7 separate regions of the Homo sapiens genome follow, and all the other regions are linked to region 6. The links are contacts of gene promoters, found by promoter capture Hi-C in blood cells and fetal thymus (Javierre and others, 2016). All regions are on one chromosome and are shown on one strand. The core of a region is centred on a gene start or on the middle of the fragment in contact, and the rest is flanking DNA. Distances in the headings are between cores, read along the strand shown.

Region 1 (3,113 bases), core at 264-2,763, 320 kb after region 6:
AATGTAAAACATCACAAAAGCAGCTATGCACACCTTGTAGCTCTGGACCTAACGTGGTAATAAGGGCATTCAAACAGCGACCAAGGCTTTGGTGAACTTCAGCATGAGTAGGAGGCACATTTAACAACAACATTATAATAAGAGAAAGGGTAGGTTCCACATGCACATAATAGAGTGGGCCAGCAGAATCAATGATCAATGATAGAGAATGTAATGCCCAGGTCTGTAATGACAAAGAAAAACAATTAAAAACATTACAGCAGCATTAAGAAACATAAAATAAATTAACTTGTTCTTTTGTTGAAGCAAGTGATAAAGTAACAGCAAATGTGAATGCTACTACTCATGTGGAAAGAGAAATGGAGGACTTCCAACTCAGAGGCAATCATCCAATTTAGAATGATATAGTTCATCATTAAGAATTGCAAGTAATAGTTGGTACTTCAGCTAACAGTTTGAATCAAATCTAGTTTGTTGAAAAATTGTTTATTGTTTAATCTATAGAAAGAATGAAAATTCAAGTTTTTAAAAAGATTCAACAAAATCTACAATTACATTCAACAATATGGACAAATCTCTTGAACATAATGTTGAGTGAAGAAAACCAGACATAAAAGAATATATGTTGTATGATTCCATTTACATAAAGTATAGAAGCAAGCAAAACTAATTTATGCTGTTGCAAATTAGGATAGTGGTTATCCTTGGTGGGGGCAGGTAGTTAACTAGAAGACAGTATGAGAAGTGTGTATGGGGTATTGATAATGGACTGTTTCTTGATTTCGGGAGGTGGTTACATAATGTACTGTTTGTACATAGATATGTGCATTTATGGCAGGTGCGCACACACATGCACACACGCACACACACACACACAATGGTTTAAATGAAAAAAGACTGGTCATATACTGATAACCACTGAAGTTAGGTGATGAGTATAATAGATTCATTGCAGTATACTTTCTAATTTTGTGTACGTTTTAATGTTCTATAACAAGAAGTAAATTAAAAGCTCTCTCTTCAGAAAATGAACTGAAAAAGTTTTATTCCTCTTATCAATGGATGTATAAGAAAGCTTACAGTACTTTAAATGCTGCAAAAATGAGCTCCTATTTGTTAGGTGAGAGAGAGCAATCAAGAAAATTCAGAAATGACACTGACAGCCACAGAAAGTATATGAATTAATCAACAAAAAAGGTATTCAATATACAACTAGGTACATTCAGAATAGACTTCTTGAAGAGAGAGAAGAAGAATATAATAGAAGCAAAAAGTACTATATATAAAGACGGGTGAAAAATGGAAACCTTGTAAGTCAATTCAGTCAAGTACTAGATGAAGTGGAGGAGGCGAGTAGTAATATGGTAATTCAGAGGGGGAAAGCTAACTGGATTAAAGCTTGGTGAGATGGTGGTTATACTGGATCTTAAAAGACTAAAAGATGTGGAATATCAAATAGGCATGTAAGGAGAGAAGAGAAAAAGAAAAGGTAAATGTAGACATGAGAATGACATGTGGATAAATCATCTGTAGAAGTCAACACTTTGAGGTAGTAACAGAAAACATCTGTGGGGTCAGTTGATGGGACTGGAATAAAGAAGTTGATTCAAGAAGCAATAAGCACTTTGTCAAGCTTTTCTGCAGGAAAGTGGCAAGATGAAAATCTTTTAGGAAAACGAATTTAGCCTTATATCTAGAGAGAGTTCGAAAGAAAAGGACCTAAAAATGTGACGAATTAGGAGGCTATGACAGTAATTTGGCACACATTAATAAGGGAGACAGATAAGACGACAGAAGGGGAGTAAAAGAACGGGAGAAATAAAAATCATTCCATATTTGATTAAGATAGGAGAATGATGATTTTACTGACAGAAATAGGTAAGATATGTACAACGATATGGTAAAGTGGTTAAGAACAGGAGTTTGGAGTCTATGACTTGTGTTCTTGATCTGATTCCATGATTTATTAGCTTTTCAGTTGTGAGCAAGTTGCTTAGCTTCTTAAGCCTCAGTTTTATTTCCCCATAATGGGCTATATACACCCTAATAAATTATTACAAGGACTAAAAGAATTACTATGAGACTTAGAAGAATGTATCGTAACACCTGGTACCTATTAAGCTCTTTAAAATAGTAGATGCTGTTATTATTATTTATTACTATTATTATTATTTTTGAGATAGGGTCTGGCTCTGTTGCCTAGGCTGGAGCATAGTGGCACAATCTGGACTTATGGCAACCTCTGTCTCCCCGGCTCAAGCCATCCTCCCACCTCAGCCTCCTGAGTAGCTGAGACCACAGATGCATACCATCATGCCCGGCTAATTTTTGTATCTTTTGTAGAGACAGTGTTTTACCATGTTGCCCAGACTGGTCTTGAACTCCTGAGCTCAAGCAATCTGCCTGCCTCGGCATCCTGAAGTGTGAGAGTATGTGCGTGAGCCACCACTTCTAGCCCAAAGCTATCATTAAGATGGAACAGAGATACATTTTCAGAAAAACACACTGAAATTGACTTCAGACTCTGAGTGTGGGGGAAGATTTTAATTTTAAAAATCCACCAAGGTTAACAACGGCTTCCACAATTACTATGGGAGGAAACTATATTCATAAATTATTAATGTTCAATATAAACACAATCTGCATCATCTAAAAATCATGAATTTCAAGGGAAGTATCACATGAGGTACCCACCTGCACATCAGGAGAAGTGCTGTCCTGCGCCAAAGTATAAAGGATTCCAATACAAGAATTTAGGTGTTGAGAAGAACTTATTCCTCCTAAATACCTATGTAGGGACCCCAAGGCCAATGAGTGTCCTGTTCTGGTAACCACATCCCTTGCTGATTTCAATCTGTAAATATAAAAATAAAAATAAACGGTAATCACTGCAAAAGAAAAAAAACACAAAAACTAATGCATGTACACTGTCACTTAGGCAAAACTTTTTATATGGATAGTTGCAAAATTTAGAAATACATTTTTGGCTAACTAATAAAAACTTCTGAAGTAACCGAAAGGCATCTTGCAAAGGAAAACATTTTGAATCAAAATGTCCTCATATTATTAATGATTAGTTTAGTATGAGCAGTTTCAATGTCTTTCATATATAT
Region 2 (3,270 bases), core at 765-3,264, 360 kb after region 6:
TGAACCCAGGAGGTAGAGCTTGCAGTGAGCCGAGATCGCGCCACTGCACTCCAGCCTGGGTGACAAAGTGAGACTCCACCTCAAAAAAAAACAAACAAAAAAAAAAAACACTACTTAAAGTAGTTCTTCATTTATGATTGTTTATTCTAATTTAAGCTCCTTTAGGTCAAATTACTTTATAGGTGTCAAAATGATTTATCGGCCAAATCAGGTCAGTTGCTTTATTTTATTATTATTTTTTATTTTTATTTTTTGAGACGGAGTCTTGTTCTGTCACCCAGGCTGGAGTGCAGTGGCATGATCTCAGCTCACTGCAACCTCTGCCTCCTGGGTTCAAGCAATTCTCCTGCCTCAGCCTCCCCTGTAGCTGGGACTACAGGCACATGCCACCATGTCTGGCTAATTTTTGTATTTTTTTTAGTAGAAGCAAGATTTCACCGTGTTGTTGGCCAGGCTGGTCTTGAACTCCTGACCTCAGATGATCCGCCCGCCTAGGCCTCCCAAAGTGCTAGGATTACGGCGTGAGCCACTGCGCCCGAACTATTCATTTTTTGTTTTATTTTGAGAGGGAGTCTTGCTCTGTCACCCAAGCTGGAGTGCAGTGGTGCAATCTCACTTCACTGCAACCTCCACCTCCTGGGTTCAAGCAATTCTCCTGCCTCAGCTTCCCGAGTAGCTGGGACTACAGGCATGCACCACCATGCCCGGCTAATTTTTGTATTTTAGTAGAGATGGGGTTTCACCTTGTTGGCCAGGCTGATCTTGAACTCCTGACCTCAAGTGATCCACCCGCCTCAGCCTCCCAAAGTGCGGGGATTACAAGCGTGAGCCACCATGCCCAGCCTCAGCCAGTTGTTTTATATCTAGCTATAACTTGTATGACAACAGAGACTTAAAATATAGGTGTGATAGAGTAATAAAATTAAGTTTCATTAGCACCATAAGACTGGGCAAAAAATAAATAAATAAAGTTTTCAGTGGCTCATGCTTATAATGCCAACACTTTGGGAGGCCAAGGCGGAAGGACTGCTTGAGCCCACAAGTTCGAGACGAGCCTGGGCAACATAGTGAGACCCCATCTCTACAAAAAAAATTTTTTTAAATTAGCCAGGCATGATGTTGCATGCCTATGGTCCCAGCTACTTGGGAGGCTTAGGTAGGAGGATCACTTGGGCCCAGGAGGTCAAGGCTGCAGTGAGCCATGATCATGCCACTGCACTCCAGCTCGTGTGACAGAGTGAGACCCTGTCTCAAAAATTTAGAGGATATAAATAGTCATGACTGTAAAACAATTACTGTTTTTTAATAAATATAATTTAAGTAAAATTCATCCCCTTCAATGTAGCAACCTTATTGGCTGTTATGAATCCTCAAACAATTATAGAACTGGATTCCCAAGCTATGGGTATGTTCTTTTGCCTATATTGTGGAAATGTTTTTTTCTGAAGATGGATGTCAATGATTTTTGAAAAAGCCACAGTTGTTCAGAGTTAAGCCTGAAAGATGATTAGTAACTCGGCTTATCCTACTTGAGGCTTATCATCTAGCCCGGAAGAGAAAATCAAGAGAGATCTCAAAAGGTTTTAAGCAATGACGAAAGTAAAAGGCTTTTTAAGGTGACTACTACAAGAAAAATGTTTGTGTGGCTATTTAAATTCTGGTATGTATTAAAAGTTCATTTCATCAAATCACATATAAGAATCATTTCACTCAGAAAACACAAAGTATTTCAAGGTATGTAAACCTTCTACAGACTGTTACCTAATGTCATCAGAGCAGAAATCAGCAACCATCCAGCTTGTGTGCGCTGAGCTGAAAGGCGACTGTTTTGAGCAGCAGAACACAGCAAATCCTCTGCTAATGTCATAATAATCTATTTACATATAGAACAAGTTTTAAAAAAAGCATATCAGTTTATAAATTACTAAATGATAGCAGCTAACAATATCTTGAAAAATTAATTCTTACATAAAATAAATGTAAACGATAAAGAACTGTCATTCGTGTAGACTACATAATAGGACTGTCATAAAGGAAACTATAAAAAATTAAGTTTTCAAGGTTAAATACTGGTATATGAGGTAGTACACAACAATCCCATAATTTTTTGTAGAACACATGTGACAACAATGTAAGATTATTCAAGTATAGCTGTATAGAATTTGAATTTACTTTTAGTTTTGAGCAACTATCCTTTTAAATCCATAATTATCCAAAAAAAGTTTTCTTACAGGAGTCTCTCTCTTAAAAATGCTACATACAGCCAGGTGCGGTGGCTCACGCCTGTAATCCCAGCACTTTGGGAGGCTGAGGCGGGTGGATCACAAAGTCAGGAGATCGAGACCATCCTGGCTAGCACAGTGAAACCCCATCTCTACTAAAAATACAAAAAATTAGCCGGGCGTGGTGGCACATGCCTGTAGTCCCAGCTACTCGGGAGGCTGAGGCAGAAGAATCGCTTGAACCCAGGAGGCAGAGGTTGTAGTGAGCTGAGATTATGCCACTGAAACTCCAGCCTGGGCAACAGAGTGAGACTCAGTCTCAACAACAAAAAAAAGCTACATACTACTTTTGTAACTCAGTAGCTGATAATAGTCTTCCAAGAGGTAGTATACTATAGTGGTTAGAGGTAGTCAAAATAGTCTCATACTGAAGAGTGAAATTTATTAAAATGTTATAGTAAAAAAGTCTATGAGGCTGGGCACAGTGGCTCATGCCTGTAATCCCAACGACTCAGAAGGCCAAGGTGGGAGGACCAATTGAGGCCAGAAATTCAAGACCAGCCTAGGAGTGAGCTAGGATCACACCACTGCATTGCAGCCTGGGCAATAAAGAAAGACCATGTCTCCTTGGAAAAAAAAAAAAAAAAAAAAAAAGGACCAGCCTGGGCAACAGAGTGAGATCCTATCTTCACAAAAAAATAAAAAGAATTAGCCAGGCAATGGAATTACGTGCCTGTAGTTTCAGCCACTTGGGAGGCTGAGACGGGAAGATTGCTTGAGCCCTGGCATTTGAGGCTGCAGTGATCTATGATCTCGCCACTGCACTCTGGCCTAGGTGACAAAGCAAGACCCTGTTTCAAAAAAAGGGGTCCATGTTATAAAACAACAGAGAAGAAAAACAGGACATTTCACATTTATGGATAATGTATGCTTACACAGTACAAGGCCAGAGAGCATCTAATATGAGAAAACACCTATTACCAATCACCTCTGAAAAAGCAGGAAGTATTATGAGTTGGCATATAAATTTTCTAAAGAAGAAGGCTAG
Region 3 (3,097 bases), core at 296-2,795, 370 kb after region 6:
CTCTTGTCTTTTTACTTTCTTTGTATTATCCTTTGAAACACAAACATATTTAATTGTGATGAAGTCTCATCTATTTTTTGTCAGTTGTGCTTTTTGGTGCTGTGTCTAAGAAACACTGCCAAAGCCAAGGTCACAAAGATTTACCCCTATGTTTTTTCCTATGAGTTTTACAGTAATAGCTGTTACACTTACATCTATGATCAATTTTGAGTTAATTTTTTATACATGGTGTAACAGAAGAGTCCAAATTCATTCTTTTGCATGTGGACATACAGTTATACTGGCATCATTTGTTGAAAAAGTGACTATTTTAAATTTTGCTTTGAAAGGATAAAATTTCTAAGAATCTATTCTGTGGTTAAATCCTAAGGCACGACACTTAGGTGAATATGATTATACTTTCAATAATAAGGATGTATCAATCTGTGATTACTCTACTATTCAGCCCAAAGATTACACACCCTCAAGTTTGTTACAAAATTCTACAAAATATTTCAACAGAACTCAGCTACATATTAGATAACAAAAAGATAAGCTTAAAGATAAAAATAAAAACAAGAAATAATGTTCTCATCAAGTTTGAAATCTGAAAACTTTATGGGGGAATACATTCTGTTATAAGGTAAAAATGAGACCAACAAAAACTTTATAGAATTATGACATGGTGGCCAGGTGCAATGGCTCATGCCTGTAATCCCAATACTTTGGGAGGCCAAGGTGGGTGGATCACTTGAGGTTAGGAGTTTGAGACCAGCCTGGCCAACATGGTGAAACCCCGTATCTACTAAAAATACAAAAATTAGCTCGAAGTGGTGCCATGTGCCTGTAGTCCCAGCTACTTGGGAGGCTAAGACAGGGGAATCGCTCGAACCCAGGAGGCAGAGGTTGCAGTGAGTCGAGATCACGCCACTGTACTCCAGCCTGGGTGGACAGAGATTCTGTCTCAAAAAACAGGAAAAAAAAGAAATATTACATGGCTCATTGCCTTTTTAAAGATAATAGGTGATAAAATGAACTAAATCCTATAGAGAAACTAAGCTGTTCTTTTTAGGATCTTAGCAAATACTTTTCTACATGATATTTACTATCAATTTTCATAACCAAGAATGAATAAATTATAAAAGCATCCAAAAATGTGAAGAATTTAAAATATCTTTCTTAAACACTCAACTGCTAAAATTTTAGGAAGATGTTTTGAATCTCAAATCTAGACTTCAAATACGTCTAAAGTATTTGTAGAATTGTTTCTCAGCAACTAACATGAAAAGTGTTAGTTTCTTTTTTAAGTTAGATTTTGAAAATGAGTAAAACTGAGTTTGCATTCAGTTTCAAAGTAAATGTCAAGTACTATGGGTACTTCATAAAAATACAACAGGAAGCAATATTTTGTTTTCTGTTCTGTTTTAATGTTTCACTTACAGCTTAGTGGGAAGATAACTTGGAGAATCATCTTTGCTACGAATAAGATCATTACATTTATCGATTGCTTCATGAACGGAGAATGTGTCTCCAATACTATAAAGTATGGCTAGATTCTTAGCAAGCAGTTTGCGGGTAGGAGGCCCTGGGGAGCTGTTCAACAAAGACAGGAGCTGTTCAACAAGAGTCTTCTGTTTCTCCCTTACATCATTCTAGAAAGAAAGATAACACAAAGACAATTCAAAGTCAATATAATTATCTGTAATCCCCTAATATAATTTTTCTTTCATATATTTAAGAACTAAAAAGGCTCTAGAAAAATACAAACTTACTTTGACTGGAAGTTACAAATAAGTTGGTAGTGTGGTCATTATGCCAGACTAATCAGGTAGTTTGCTGCCCTGCTAATAATAAAAAAGCCCTCCAAAAATTCCGAACCACATTACACTGCAATCTCTGTTAACAAATATAAGGGCTCTATGTATTCGAAATCTTTCTTCTTTTGTTTGAAAGGCAGAGCAAATTTGTATTATTATTATTATTGTTTTTTTTTTTTTGAGATGGAGTCTCGCTCTGTCGCCCAGGCTGGAGTGCAGTGGCCCGATCTCCGGTCACTGCAAGCTCCGCCTCCTGGGTTCACGCCATTCTCCTGGCTCAGCCTCCCGAGTAGCTGGGACTACAGGCGCCCGCCACCATGCCCGGCTAATTTTTTGTATTTTCAGTACAGACAGGGTTTCACGGTGTTAGCCAGGATGGTCTCGATCTCCTGACCTTATGATCCACCCACCTCGGCCTCCCAAAGTGCTGGGATTACAGGCGTTAGCCACCGCGTATTATTATTTTTAATAGAGACAATGTGAAATGGTTTGGCTCTGCATCCCCACCCAAATCTCATGCTGAATGGTAATTCCCATGTTTCAGGGGAGGGGCCTGCTAGGAGGTGATTAGATCAAGGGGGTGGATTTCACCCATGCTGTTCTTGTGACAGTGAGTGAGTTCTCACAAGATCTGATGGTTTAAAAGTGTGTGACACTTCCCCGCAACCCTTCCTGCCATGATGTGAAGAAGGTCCTCACTTTCCCTTCGCCTTCTCCCATGACTGTTTAAGTTTCCTGAGGCCTCCCACTCATGCCTGTTAAGCTTGCATATCTGTGCATTAATTAAACCTTTCTTCTTCATAAATTACCCAGTCTCAGGTAGTTCTTTATAGCAGTGTGAGAACGGACTAATACACAAGGTCATACTATGTTGCCTGGGGTAGAGTGCAATGGCTATTCATAGGAGCAATTATAGTGCTACACTACAGCCTCAAATTCCTGGGCTCAAGCAATCCTCCTGCTTCAGCCTACCATGTAACTTGGTCTATAAGCATGCATCACCATGTCCAAATTTGTATTTTCAACTACAGCATCTGAGTTACTAATCCTACACCTCCCTCATATATAGCTGCATAAAGCAGTAAACTATAATCTATAACCAGAGCTGACCTTGTAATGGCTACCTGTTTTATTCAGGTCTATTCCTAAGTGTAGGGCAATTTTCTTTTTGCAAGCTTACGTATATAAATGTTAATAACATTATTCCATTTTCCTTGTCTGCTATCTGAATAAAGAGTACACAGTATCATTATAAAGCTAATGGTATTCAGGTGCTCAATGAGGCCTAAAATTCCACAATA
Region 4 (3,555 bases), core at 492-2,991, 430 kb after region 6:
GCTTGCCCCCGACCAGCATAGACCACGAGCTGCAAGGGGTCTGAGACAGTAAGGCCTGAAGTTCACCGAACTCAGTTTCAAATACCTGTGGTCCCCCCAAGAAGGGAGACACGCTCTTCCTCTCGGGTGCTACAACTGGCGCTGGGGAACGGTGATGCTGGACCGAAAAGACAAGCGCAGCCAGGCAGGCCACCGCGGCCAGCTTCAAGCTGACCCGGTATCCCCGCGGCCGGACCGCCGGTCTCAGAGGGAGACACAGAGCGGACGAGTCACCGAGACAACGCGGAAAAAACCGCCCCGCACGCCGGAGGATAACGAGAGCTGCCGGGCTGACGTTACCTCCACCCACTGGGCCGCGACGTCCCCATCGGCTGGGCGAATTTGCAGCCGGGCGTGCAGGCACTGCTGTAGGAGCGCCCGGGCCTGAGGAATCCGGCTACCCTCAGCCATGGCTTAAGCCAGCGCCGCGGCCGGACAGTTACTAGGCCATGTGTCGCTGGCCCCTCCCTCGACGCGCTGGCGGGGCAGACGAGGCGGGGCACGACGAAGGGCCTGCGCCGATTGCCCAGTGGCCCCGCCCTTAGGAGGGCGGGGCCTCGGACTGACTCTCGAATGTCCCGGATGTGCGGTCTTGGAGGCCGGCGTAGCGCTAAGCTTCTCGGCAGCACCTGCCCAACTCTGTAGAAGGCGCTCAGTGTATACTTTTATTAAACGATTGAAAAGACTCGTTAAATCTCTTTCCTACAAACCTTTTAAGAAACATTTTTCACCTCAGAAAGCTTAGGTTCCAACTGTTGAAAAATTTTAAATCTGCTTGATTTAAATTCATGTTATGCCCATATGAAAGTAAGTAAACAAATAATCGAATCATAAAGCAAGCGGAGATGGAACTAAAAGCTATATATACATCCTTCAAAATTTTCCTTATTCCAATCAATAAAAACAATGCTGCCTCCTCTATCGGGAATGCCATAAATTATTCTGATTCCACAGTTGTGAAAAGGTATTGGTATGCTATACGAATACACATTCTTTAGAAGATATCCTTGTTAAAAATGTTCTTATCCAAGAAAGTATGATTGTTAATAACTTAGCCCGCTACTAATACAAAAATAAAACAGCTTATTCTGATGCATATGACGTAAATTCTGTGATGCATTTTCTGGAAGTACATATTAGAATGTAAATAAAACTAAACAAGGGCTTGATTTTCTTTCCCATGTAACGTATTCCTTAAACATGCATCAGATTAGCATTTATTTGTCTATGGGCTTGGATGGTTTAGATGAGGAATAATAGTGTTACCCTGATTGCATTACCCAGGTCATTGATTTGGGCTCAGTTGACACAATGTGCCTATACATTCGGATCTGTTGTTTAAAAAGATGACATCACTGACAGTGTTGCTATCCATACAAAGTAGTGTGACTGAAGAAAATAGTCCATGCATAATCAACAGTCCTTTGTACACAAAATCGAAGCTGCTTGTTTGCTGGTTATCTTGCAGCCAGGTTTACACTTTTAGTAAAAACAGAAAGCAAAATCTCACATGATCTCTGATTGTTGCATTGCAGGGATTCCAACAGTTGTTGACATTTGTCTGCAAAGCACAGACAAGTTGAATTGCTTCATGTCTGCACCTTTATGTCATTATAACTACTGAGTCTCTTTTCTCTCCGGCTCTCAGATTCAGATTTTACAGGCCTGAAAGAAACTTTGACATACAAACCATTAGCTATGTCCCAGAATAAGAAAAGACTTTGGTGTCCATTTGTATGTGGCTGCAGGAAATAGGGAGGTCTATAGAGAATAGGTTATGTGGTTCGCAGAGATCTTTCTACAGAGAGGGTTTCTTTAACAAATTGGGAAACCCTTCCTGTGAGTAGAATAGATGGAGTATGGATGGTAATGGTTAGCTTCTCAAAAATCACTAATTACTTTAAACCCTCCTATTGAGTGAGGATCTCGTGGACATTGCTGTAGGTACTGTAATAGGCTGTGGCTCACTTATTTTTTACTTCTATTTGCAGAAGGCTATAGAGAGTGGCCACCAAAGACAGCATTTCCTTTCTGTATTTTATTTTTTGAACACTTAGTTTCATTCTGCAAATAATTTAAGAAGGAAGGACATGCATGCAATAAAATAGTAAAATGTGAATTAAAGCATTAGAAATAAAGAAACTAGAATTATGTCAGTAAGCCACAATGGGGGAAATTGAAAACAGGTAAGACAGTGGTTCTCAACTGGAGTGCTGAGATGATATAGTATGCAGCAAAATTTTCACAAATGTATAACTTTAATTTTTGTTATAAAACAATTATGTTCATTGTATGTAGTATTGAGGTGCTGTAGGTTGTACAATTTGTTTCAAGTTGGAACTAAAGGCAAAGCATAGCATTAAGTTGGCTTTACAAGAAGATGGTGGTTCACTGGAATGTGAGAGAGCTTTGCCTTGTCATTGTATGAGAAATCATTGAGCAGAGATAATTCTCAAACACCTACAATGCTGAAAGTGTACCATATGGATAGGGGATTAATTGTGGATGGGTTCTATGTCCTCTGAGATGGTACAATAACTAATTTAGTGTTATTTTACCTTCTTTAATTCATTTAAGTTGGCTGCCCTAAATTCTGGCATTCAAAGTATTTCACAAACATGAAAAGTTTGAGAACCATTTCTAAAAGATTCCTTAGAGTTGATGCTAAGCTTCCTGGTTGTAAATAGGAGAGGATAGGGAAGGGCAGTATAATCTATTTCATAGTTCTAGGGATAAGCAGAGCTTTTCCTCAGATTTAGCTCTCAGCTGAGCCTCTTACCTGAGACTTTATATAGGATATGTTAATAAATACAAGTGCAGGCCTGGCGAGGTGGCTGATGCCTGTAATCCCAGCACTTTGGGAGGCTGAGGTGGGTGGATCACGAGGTCAGGAGATGGAGACCATCCTGGCTAACACGGTGAAACCATTTTTAGTCTCTACTAAAAAATACAAAAAATTAGCCAGGCGTGGTGGCGGGCACCTGTAGTACCAGCTACTCGGGAGGCTGAGGCAGGAAAATGGCATGAACCCAGGAGGCAGAACTTGCAGTGAGCCGAGACTGCGCCACTGCACTCCAGCCTGGGCAACAGAGCGAGACTCCGTCTCAAAAAAAAACCAAAACAAAACAAAACAAAAAAAAACCAAAAAAAAACAAGTGCAACTGGAAGAGGTAGGTATCTTATCTTAGGGAAGACAGTATCTAGCCCTCTAGTTTAAAGCCCAGATATTTTTTTTTCTAGTTTAAAGCCCAGAGATTTATTTTTTTTTGAAAAAAAAAATAATAACCAGGTTCTGAGAAATTGGTTAACATTAACTAAAATGCACATTAGATTGGGGTAGAACCAGAATACTAATTTAGTCATTTACAACAAGAAATATTGCCATGACATGGAGTAGAAATTCTCACATAGGGCATGGTCAGCATGTTTCCCCCTGTGGTGAAGCATAGGAAGCTAGATCATATTCAGAAGTCTCTTTATTAATTAACTATGAGAAATACTCAAAATCGGTATGAC
Region 5 (3,169 bases), core at 190-2,689, 300 kb after region 6:
ACATATGTATGTATGTATGTATGTATGTATGTATGTATGTATGTAGAGACAGGGTTTCACTCTGTTGCCCAGGCTGGAGTGCAGTGGTGTGATCTTGGCTCACTGCAACCTCTGCCTCTCGGGCTCAAGCAATCCTCCCATCTTAGCTTCCCGAGCAGCTGGGACTACAGGTGTGAGCCACCAGGCCCAGCTAATTAAAAAAAAAATTTTTTTTTGTAGAGATGGTGTTTTGCCACGTTGCCCAGGCTGGTCTCAAACTCCTGGACTTGAGCAATCTGCCTGCCTCAGCCTCCCAAAGTGCTGGGATTATAGGGGTAAGCCACCACACCTGGTCTCAAATATTTGTTGTATGTATGAAAAGAAATGATGGGAACAATATACATCAAGTCACACCTTTTAGGGCATAAACAATAACTTTACTTTTTAATTTGTTTTATATAGGAAAGTCATCTAAGACAGCCAAAGGGAAAAAGAGCAGGCTTAAGTATTGGATTTATATTGTTCAAATTACAGAGAATTCTAAAACACTAGAAATACAATCTTCATTTGAAGAAAAGCAACAATCAGACAGTCAGAATCCAGCTAGTTAGACAAGACTGATGAATTCTCAGTGGTAAACAATTTTATGTAAAGTTTCAAATTTCAATTTTATTATTTTAACTGATAATGTCCAATACTTACCAGCTGATGCAGCAAGTACATCTTTACAAAGCTTTAACCACAGGGAGAGTTTTTCCACTGCCATAGATGTAAGCATATAATTTAAAGTCTCTTTGATATCATGGCATAATCTCTCATCTGTCTCCTTGTCTAGTAAGATCAACAATGCCCCCTCAAGGCCAACTTCTCTGATGTTAGCATCTGACAAGAAGAAAATCAATTATCTAAGTAATACAGAAAACAAAACTACCATATCAGAAGCTCACACATTCAGTAGTTATTCAAATAGTAGATAAAAATACATCTTAAAGAACTAGCCCAAATACTGTGCTTTAATCTACTGAGATCCATTTTAGTTCACACTTGAATTTTGGGATTTATGATCCTATATAGCAGTATTTTATGTAATGTCACTGAAAAAAAGTATTCATATGTTATTATTAATATGTTTTCTTAATCAGGTAAAAAGTTTTACCCAATTAGTGTCCAATACTTACAAAATTTTTTTTTCTTTATTCGAGACAGAATTTCACTCTTGTTGCCCAGGCTAGAGTGCAATGGCACGATCTTGGCTCACTGCAACCTCCGCCTCCCAGGTTCAAGCAATTCTCCTGCCTCAGCCTCCCTAGTAGCTAGAATTACAGGCACCCGCCACCACGCCCAGCTAATTTTTTTTTATTTTTAGTAGAGATGGGGTTTCACTACGTTGCCCAGGCTGGTCTCAAATTCCTGACCTGAGGCGATCCACCCATCTCAGCCTCCCAAAGTGCTGAGATTACAGGTGTGAGCCACTGAACCCAGCTCAATACTTACAAATTTTATTCAGTGCTTAATTTTTTTTTTTTCCTTTTGAGACAGAGTCTCACTCTGTCACCCAAGATGGAGTGAAGTGGTGCAATCTCGGCTCACTGCAACCTCTGCCTCCCGGGTTGAATTGGTTCTCCTGCCTCAGTCTCCTAAGTAGCTGGGACTACAGGTGCCTGCCACCATGTCTGGCTAATTTTTGTATTTTTAGTAGAGACGGGGTTTCACCATGTTGGTCAGGCTGGTCTTGAACTCCTGACCTCAAGTGATCCACCCACCTTAACCTCCCAAAGTGCTGGGATTATAGGCGTTGAGCCACAGTGCCCAGCCTCCAGTGGCACTTTTTTTTTTTTTTTTTTTTTTTTTGAGACCGAGTCTTGCTCTGTTGCCCAGGCTGGAGTGCAGTGGCATAATCTTGGCTCACTGCAACCTCCGCCTCCTGAGTTCAAGCAATTCTCCTGTCTCAGCCTGCTGAGTAGCTGGGACTAGAGGCGACCACCACCACGCCCTGCTAATTTTTGTATTTTTAGTAGAGACGGGTTTCAACAGTGGCCAGGCTGGTCCCGAACTCCTGACCTTAGGTGATCCACATGCCTAGGCCTCCCAAAGTGCTAGGATTATAGGCATGAGCCACCACGCCTGGCCCAGTATAATTATTTTCTAGTTTTAAAAAAACATAATTAAGTTTTCCTTATTCTGGTATAAAGCTTTAAAATATATTAACGTGAGAGTAAAGCTCAAACAGAAAACAAACACTATATGGAGAACACTGTTTAATTACTACAACTAAGCTATTGTGGACTACTGAATAAACATATATCACTATACAATATTCTCACTACAAAGTAATACCTCAAAGGGGAAATACTAGCCTTGATCTAGCATCTACTATTACCTTTAATTCTGAAAATGCCAAAAGGACAAATACATTTTCTCTTGAAGAGTTAACTCATCTAGCATTTATGAAAGCATGTAGATTTGAAAGGTTATATTATTAGTAGACTATTCTATTTATTTATTGTTTTGGAGACAGAGTCTCGCTCTGTCGCCCAGGTTGGAGTACAGTGGCACAATCTCACTGCAATCTCTGCCTCCTGAGTTCAAGCGATTCTCCTGCCTCAGCCTCTCCAGTAGCTGGGATTACAGGCATGTGCTACCATGCCCAGCTAATTTTTTTTTTTATTACCTTGTAGAGACGAGGTTTCACCATGTTGGCCAGGCTGGTCTCGAACTCCTGACCTCAGATCCACCCGCCTCAGCCTCCCAAAGTGTTGGGATTGTAGGAGTTAGCCACTGTGCCTGGCCTTTGTGGGTGTTTTGTTTTGTTGGTACTAGACTATTTTAAAAGAGAAATTATCTTTTAAATATTAGAAGGAGGTGATAGAAATGTTTCAGATTAGGGATCTAACAAGATATAATAGCTAAGGTAATGTGAGTCATGACTGGATCTTAGATTTAGGTGGCAGTGAGGGGAGAGGAATCATAAAGGACATTTTTTGGATGACTAGGGAAATGTGTGTGAGGGCTGCAAATCAATATTGATTTTCTTAGGTGTGTGATCATGTATGGGTATGTCCTTTGCATTAGTCCATTTTCATACTGCTATAAAGACATACCCAAGACTGGGTAATTTATTTAAAAAAGAGGTTTCAGTCCAGGCACAGTGGCTCACGCCCATAATCCCAGCACTTTGGGAGGCTGAGGC
Region 6 (3,254 bases), core at 755-3,254:
CTTAAAAATAGGTTTAAGTTTACAGTAAAAATCCACTGATGCTTCACTACACCCTCCCACAAATATGTATTCAACACATACATTTTAAAATACGCATCTCACAAGCAATCTCAGTAGACTGAAGGCACCTAAAGCAAACTAGAAACCTTATTAAGTTAACCCAATAAAACATTTTAAATATATAACTCAAAAAAAAAAAAACCAACGCCATCATGAACATTTTATTCCAAAAGAATCAGTATGAAATAAAAAAGAGTCTAGAAACACTGTAGGACTTCTTCAAAACAAGGAAACAAACAAAAACTTAGGATGGCTAATAACAGTACTGTACCAATAGAATTGAAAGCAAGCAAGCAAGCAAAAGGAATCTACCTTAAAACACTGCTGCTGCTGTTAAGGAGACCTAGAAGGGAAAGCAAATGCTAGAGCAGGCAATAAAGGCTTCTTTAATATATAGTATAGGTTTTACTAATTTGGGCACAAGATATCTTTCTTCTCAGCTGCTTACATTAGTGAAGTTTATGGGTGAAAAATGCAATTGCTAACTTGAAGAGTGTTGAAATCCAAACTTGCATACAACAGTACAAAGGTCTAAGAAACCATAGCAGGGACTGGTGAAGTATTATTTAGTGAGCTTAGGCCTTACTGCATTTGTCAATCCAAATTTTAAAAACAAATGCCTTACTTACTTTACTCACACAGAAAATTAAGTTTGCAGTATGTAGTAGAAAGCTGTATACCAACAGAATTCTATAAATTTTAAGTATGTTAAAGCAGACTGTACACAACTTAAACCAGTTTTGACTTCAGCTTTTTTAAAGTTATGTAATTTTAAAGCCCAATATTATATCAAAACACAATTGTAAAGCACTGAAATGACTAACAAGTGTTACTTTTTTTTAAGACTTCATACAGTGTCAAAATACCCAAGTATTTTTTACTTTTGAAAAGTTTAACTTCACCCACTTTGTGGAGTCATATAAAAGTTTACTAGTTCAGAACCAAACTAAAGAGATGCATATTTGAGGACACCCTTTCTAGTTAATCCAATCCTCCTCCTTTCAGCACTACATTTGCCTAACGATTCACCATAGGCATATGACATATATGACAGCAAATACTGCTTACCCCCTAAATACACAACAGTCTGAAGAACAGGTGCAATACTATTTAGACACACGCTTTTTCCTTCTAAGCCTAAATTTGCCCTGGAAAGGTATTTAAAAATAAACACAAATACCCAAGAAAGTTAAATAACCCTTTCAAAAAGATGCAGCAATTTTGAGATCCAGGACATGAGCTGTTAACTACCAACAGCTTCCAAATGTGCAGCCTATCAAAGGTTCACATTATGAGGATCGAGTCAAGCTCAACTATGAAGGGTTCCGAGAACATCTCACTTTGCTTCTCCTGCAAGAGTAAGTAACATGATATAACTACGTTTCACTTCAAGGGAATATTAAATCTCTTCAGTCGTTTCATAAATACAGCATCGATCGTCTGGTTTGGTTTTTTTATAGATAAAGAAACGGATGGGGGAAAGGAGATCTAGTGGAGAGTACTGTAAAAAGAAAAATTCAGTGCTGAAAGCGTTGATGAGTCACTAAGTAAGGAATAACTACAGAGAATCCAAGTGAGTAAGGCAGCATCTCAGGTGAGAAAGTACTTAAAGTTGACGATGGGAAATAAAACTTCACAGGTCAGTCCCAAGTCACTGTGCACCCTAGCAGCCCAGGAAAGAAGCGTGGCTGTCAAGGGGCAAGCGCGTACCAAGTCTGAGGGAGGGGGCCAGATACGCCAAATCGGAAAGGGGGGTGGTCCGGAAAAGGGGGGTAAGATGCCTATCCTAGTCCCTCTCTTCGGGCTCTTCATCTCAAGAGGAACAAACAAGAGCAAACTCAGTGTTGAGAGGCCCCAAACCGGACTCTCCCACAGAGAGGTGCTCGGTCCCAAGCCCCGGAGGCCCGGGAAGGCCGCCTCCGGAGGAGCCCCCGCAGACGCCATACTAAAAGCCAAAATGGCTGCCCCGAGGAGGCCCGCACCGCGTAGCCAGTGAAGGTTGGGGAGCAAGCTTATGCGGGAAAGAGGGAGGGGGACTCCAGGAAAAGCCGTTGAGAGGACCATCACAACCTGAGCAGCACAGGTAGGTTCCGCTCGGCCTCCCAAGGCGCCGGCTCCGGCTGAGTGGAGTCCCCAGCCCCACCCCCCGGCCGGGAACCCAGCCGCCGCAGCTCCCGCACACCGACCCCAACGAGGTACCTGCAGTTCGGCCCGTTCCACCTCCCAGTGCGCCCGCTCCATCTCGAACCGAGCCCACTCGTGCTGGATGTAGTGCAGTATCCCCGGGATAGTGTACTGCTGCGGCCGGGACAGCTCGGGGCCTGCCGCGGGACCCGCTCCCTCGGAGGCCGGAGGACCCCCGCCGCCCGCCGCTCCGTTCCCCCCGGGCGAAAGGCCCAGGTTCCCCCCAGGTCCCTGCTGCTGCCGGGGAGGGGCCGCCATCCCCGGGCCGCCACCACCGCCTCCGGCAAGCTCGTCCATTGTGTGTGGGGCCCCGGCCGGGGCGCAGGGCGAGACGCCGACAGCTGGGGGAAGGGCCGGAGAGGGTGGCCCCGCGCTGGCTGCGGGGCGGAGGCCGGCCGGGAGAGGGGCGGGGAAGGGGTCGTTGCTGTGTGCCTGCCGTGGGTCAGAGCAGGGAGCTGCCGGCTGCCGCCATTACAATCCCTCCTCCATCTGCCCGTCTCACTCACTCACTTTAGGGGAAGGGGGGGCCTCGGCGGGAGGGGTGGGGGGAGAGTTGGGAAGGGGATAGGCGGAGGGCCGTCACTAGCGCACAGCATGCTGGGTAGCGAACGCAGCCTCACGCTTAATCGCCAAATAGAGTCCGGCCTCACCCTACGCCGGCGCACTGAGAACGCAGCCCGGGTCGCCGTTAGAGGGCGGGGAAAGAGCTCGGGCTCCGCCCCTAGGCCCGCCCTCAGACCCGATCCGGTGTCTGGCCGCAGCTACCGGACACCTGGGCTCCGACTCTGACTTTTGGAAGCGAGGCGGCCTTAGGCTTCCTGGTTATCAGTTTCCTTTTAGCAGGCCGTCCCCGGGCGCTGTTTCCTTCCCAGGGGTCTCTCACCCGTGTCCCGGCTTTCTGAGCTGGTTGTTAACCTGGCTGGTCGCTCTGGCCGACCGCATCCCGTCTCGGATTCCTGACGTTTCTTTTTCATTCTTTGAGTGTTTCAGGCAGTCCCAAGGGTGGGCCC
Region 7 (3,279 bases), core at 396-2,895, 410 kb after region 6:
CTCTTGTTTTTGTATCTACTTGTATACTTGGTATACAAGTAGACTCTAAATAAATTCTTGTTGAAGAAACTATGCCTTTTTAATTCTGAGTGTGAGGGAGCTAAAGTCCAAATTTTTTTCCATTGATTATTGTGTAAATCACTGTTGTAAGCTTCTTAATGATGGTCACTGCGCAGTATACTTACCTGTTTGGTTATAATGCCTACCAGTGCTTTACACATACAAGGTAGCAAGTATCTCACTCATTAAATCTAGTAATAATTGCAAATATTTATCAAACTGAGTAGCAGTGGTTCAGTATTGAAATGCTTGCAAAATTTCTCTTTCCTGTTTCTAAATTAAAACATAAGGGGAAAATATGGGAATTAATATGGTATCATGATAATCCTATACATATTTTAGGATAAACACAAATCTGTGGGCCATATAGTGATGAACACTTTCTGGTCATAAGACCTCAGTAAAATAGAACATGCCGATAAAATTTTCAGAAAAGTCTAGGAAATAGCAAATTTATATCACCACTGGGGGGAAAGGGATTTTTTAAAAAAAAACCTTGTTGAAGCATATGGGCACTCACTATTATTTATGAGATGATAGCAAGTGTACTGAGTAACATTTTAAACAATATTCTGAAAACATCTTGAAACAAAAATTCAGCGCAGATTTATAAAGCAAAAAAAAGCAATCTAACACCAACGTGATTGAGGACACAAAATTTAATCATTGCTTAAAGATTATCAGATATTTCTCTTTCACTATTGAACGGAGATTTAATACTTGCAGTAACTTCTGCCAACTCAGAACCCTGAGAAAATAAGTCACTTTCTTTACAGAAATAAGAAGAAAAAAAAGGATATTACCAACAATGGAAGAGGAATGCAGAGTGGCAACAGCTCCAAGTGGACCTGGCAGACTATGAACACTAGAATCACCAAGGAAACATGGAGCTATGAAATGGCAAAAGGCTGTGTGAAAACCCTGACGCTTTTTGGTTCAGCCTTTAAAAACCAAATGAAAACTCAAGAGATACAAGAATGTGGTTATTTTGATGAACAACTCACAAACTAGTTGAATTAAAAGAAACTGGTTCAAATGAACACAAACCTAAACATTTTTTCAGTTCGTCTAATTAAAGTCTAACCAATTCCTTCTAATTTAAAAGATCCAGTTTTGGATATATCCAAGACTAAAACACAATCTTATCAAAGTCTATTTAATATGGTGTAAATCTCACGGGAACTGTGACTATCTTCTCTCCCAGTCTAAACCTTGTGGCTTTTCTGATTGCTTTTTATAATGATTGATGTTCATATCTCTCGCTTATTTTATAAGAAATAAAGAAAACAAAGATCATAAACTCACACACAGAAAAATAAAAGACACAGTTTTTTGTTTGTTTTGTTGAGACAAGGTCTCACTGTATTGCCCAGGCTGGTCTTGAACTCCTGGGCTCAAGTGATCCTCCTGCCTTGGCCTCCCAAAGTGCTGGGATTACCACACCTGGCCAGCAATACATTTTTAAATGAAGATTCACTACCCTAGCCAAAAGTGTCTTCTCCTTCTGCAGCTATTTTATTAATAAAACTCACTGATAGCATTGTCCAGACATCAGAGACCACATACTACCTAGTGCATTTTTGTGGCTAATGTGTCCCCTACTAGATGGTAAATTCCTTGGGGCTAGTGATCATATCTTAAACATTTCACACAGCCCCTAGCTACACTGCTGACCTGCAGATTATAAAGACCACAACATTTAAGTGGAAAGCAAGTATCCATTATGCAGTATTAAGCAAATGTTAGATTTTCAACATATGGGTTTTAAAAGGCAAATATGTATATAATGAAAAGAAGTAAAAGCCCTGTGGCTGGGTGGGGTGGCTCACGCTTGTAATCCCAAAACTTTCGAGGCTGAGGTGGGTGGATCACTTGAGGTCCGGAGTTCGAGACCAGCCTGGTCAACATGGTGAAACCCCATGTCTCAGGATGGGGAACATCACACACCGGGGCCTGTCGTGGGGTGTGGGGAGGGGAAGGGATAGCATTAGAAGATATACCTAATGTAAATGACAAGTTAACGGGTGCAGCACACCAACATGGCACATGTATACATATGTAACAAACCTGCACGTTGTGCACATGTACCCTAGAACTTAAAGTATAGCAATAAAAAAAAAAAAAAAAGAAACCCCGTGTCTACAAAAAAATACAAAATTAGGCCAGGCGCAGTGGCTCATACCTGTAATCCCAGCACTTTGGGAGGCCAAGGTGGGCAGATCACGAGGTCAGGAGTTTGAGACCAGCCTGTCCAAAATGGTGAAACCCCATCTCTACTAAAAAAATAAAAAATTAGCCAGGCGTGGTGGCCAGTGCCTGCAATCCCAGCTACTCAGGAGGCTAAGGCAGGAGAATCACTTGAACGTGGGAGGCGGAGGTTGCAGTGAGCCAAGATCACACCATTGCACTCCAGCCTAGGCAACAGAGCAAGACTCTGTCTCAAAAAAACAAAAAGCAAAAAAAACCAAATTAGCCAGGCATGGTGGTAGTCACCTGTAATCCCAGCTACTTGGGAGGCTTAGGCAGGAGAATCGCTTGAAGCCCAGAGGCAGAGGTTGCAGTAAGCCAAGATCGCGCCAAGATCGCACCAAGATCACTCCAGCCTGGGCGACAGTGAAATGTGTCTCAAAAGAAAAAAAAAAAAAAGAAATAAAAGCCCCGAGGACTTTCAGAATGTAATCAGAAGAAAAAATAATGCAGGCATTGAGCAAACTAAACTTAAAAGATGGTCATGTTTGCTCATAGACATACCTTGGGGCTGCTAAGGAAATCAGAAGAATGCCAGGAATAGAAAGTGTGCCTTAGCCTATCTACATTAGTACAAGGTTGAAGTAAACAGTCTCTCAAAGTTGGAGCCAAGGGTTACATTTTCGCTAGTATGATCAGACATTTTCTAAAAAAACTCCATACCTTCCCTTAAAACAAAAAAAAAGCCCACAATTACTTTCCCAACCTCAAATGTTTATGGCAATAATAGCTAATGGTTCTCAGATACTGTTATACAGGGTGTGGTGCATTCTCCACATAAATTCTTCTTTTCACATTCAGATAAAAGGCTGATGTAATAGGTCAAATTTTATTAAGCTTCTTAAGAGAAAAATGCTGACTAACCCAGTGTGAAGAATTCATTCACATGGAAAAGTCCAGTAAAAAGAAGTAGGGTCATATTTATCTTAAAGTTGGCTATTTGTGATGTATCCCACATAACTGCTTTATTTT

Evidence for each region. Contacts are between HindIII fragments. The CHiCAGO score rates a contact against its expected background, and 5 or more counts as called.
Region 1: a fragment that was not itself captured here is called in contact with the fragment with the promoter of AP4S1 in region 6 in 1 of 17 cell types (naive CD8 T cells); the score reaches 5.1 in naive CD8 T cells.
Region 2: a contact is called between a fragment that was not itself captured here and the fragment with the promoter of AP4S1 in region 6, in 4 of 17 cell types (non-activated CD4 T cells, neutrophils, M0 macrophages and 1 more). The highest score is 7.1, in non-activated CD4 T cells.
Region 3: a contact is called between a fragment that was not itself captured here and the fragment with the promoter of AP4S1 in region 6, in 1 of 17 cell types (neutrophils). The highest score is 8.0, in neutrophils.
Region 4: a fragment that was not itself captured here is called in contact with the fragment with the promoter of AP4S1 in region 6 in 2 of 17 cell types (naive CD8 T cells and neutrophils); the score reaches 5.5 in naive CD8 T cells.
Region 5: a fragment that was not itself captured here is called in contact with the fragment with the promoter of AP4S1 in region 6 in 3 of 17 cell types (non-activated CD4 T cells, naive CD8 T cells and M1 macrophages); the score reaches 6.2 in non-activated CD4 T cells.
Region 7: a fragment that was not itself captured here is called in contact with the fragment with the promoter of AP4S1 in region 6 in 1 of 17 cell types (neutrophils); the score reaches 5.9 in neutrophils.

Annotation. Positions count from the first base shown.
Region 1 is chr14:31,345,054-31,348,166 of GRCh38, forward strand. It overlaps HEATR5A (HEAT repeat containing 5A), which reads right to left. Exons shown (of 36, transcript NM_015473.4): 19 at 2,695-2,854; 20 at 34-223. Among named protein-coding and RNA genes, the nearest start is that of HEATR5A, 74 kb to the right of the region's middle. The HindIII fragment of the contact is 235 bases long and covers 1,397-1,631 here.
Region 2 is chr14:31,378,706-31,381,975 of GRCh38, forward strand. HEATR5A (HEAT repeat containing 5A) reads right to left here. Exons shown (of 36, transcript NM_015473.4): 11 at 1,762-1,873. Among named protein-coding and RNA genes, the nearest start is that of HEATR5A, 40 kb to the right of the region's middle. The HindIII fragment of the contact is 5,231 bases long and covers 1-3,270 here.
Region 3 is chr14:31,398,882-31,401,978 of GRCh38, forward strand. HEATR5A (HEAT repeat containing 5A) reads right to left here. Exons shown (of 36, transcript NM_015473.4): 3 at 1,420-1,631. Among named protein-coding and RNA genes, the nearest start is that of HEATR5A, 20 kb to the right of the region's middle. The HindIII fragment of the contact is 2,024 bases long and covers 534-2,557 here.
Region 4 is chr14:31,456,944-31,460,498 of GRCh38, forward strand. It overlaps DTD2 (D-aminoacyl-tRNA deacylase 2), which reads right to left and starts at 563. Exons shown (of 3, transcript NM_080664.3): 1 at 340-563. The coding sequence starts at 450. RefSeq lists enhancers at 1-167, 168-753, 198-407, 548-727. The HindIII fragment of the contact is 1,929 bases long and covers 778-2,706 here.
Region 5 is chr14:31,325,482-31,328,650 of GRCh38, forward strand. It overlaps HEATR5A (HEAT repeat containing 5A), which reads right to left. Exons shown (of 36, transcript NM_015473.4): 23 at 682-861. Among named protein-coding and RNA genes, the nearest start is that of HEATR5A, 93 kb to the right of the region's middle. The HindIII fragment of the contact is 1,459 bases long and covers 711-2,169 here.
Region 6 is chr14:31,023,645-31,026,898 of GRCh38, forward strand. AP4S1 (adaptor related protein complex 4 subunit sigma 1) reads left to right here and starts at 2,005. Exons shown (of 6, transcript NM_001128126.3): 1 at 2,005-2,143. STRN3 (striatin 3) reads right to left here and starts at 2,735. Exons shown (of 18, transcript NM_001083893.2): 1 at 2,260-2,735. The coding sequence starts at 2,541. RefSeq lists enhancers at 1,684-1,783, 1,854-1,963, 3,074-3,233 and silencers at 1,953-2,134, 2,274-2,533, 2,624-2,943. The HindIII fragment of the contact is 24,948 bases long and covers 1-2,069 here.
Region 7 is chr14:31,438,836-31,442,114 of GRCh38, forward strand. The region is part of intron 2 of HEATR5A-DT (HEATR5A divergent transcript); the gene reads left to right. Among named protein-coding and RNA genes, the nearest start is that of DTD2, 17 kb to the right of the region's middle. The HindIII fragment of the contact is 2,993 bases long and covers 150-3,142 here.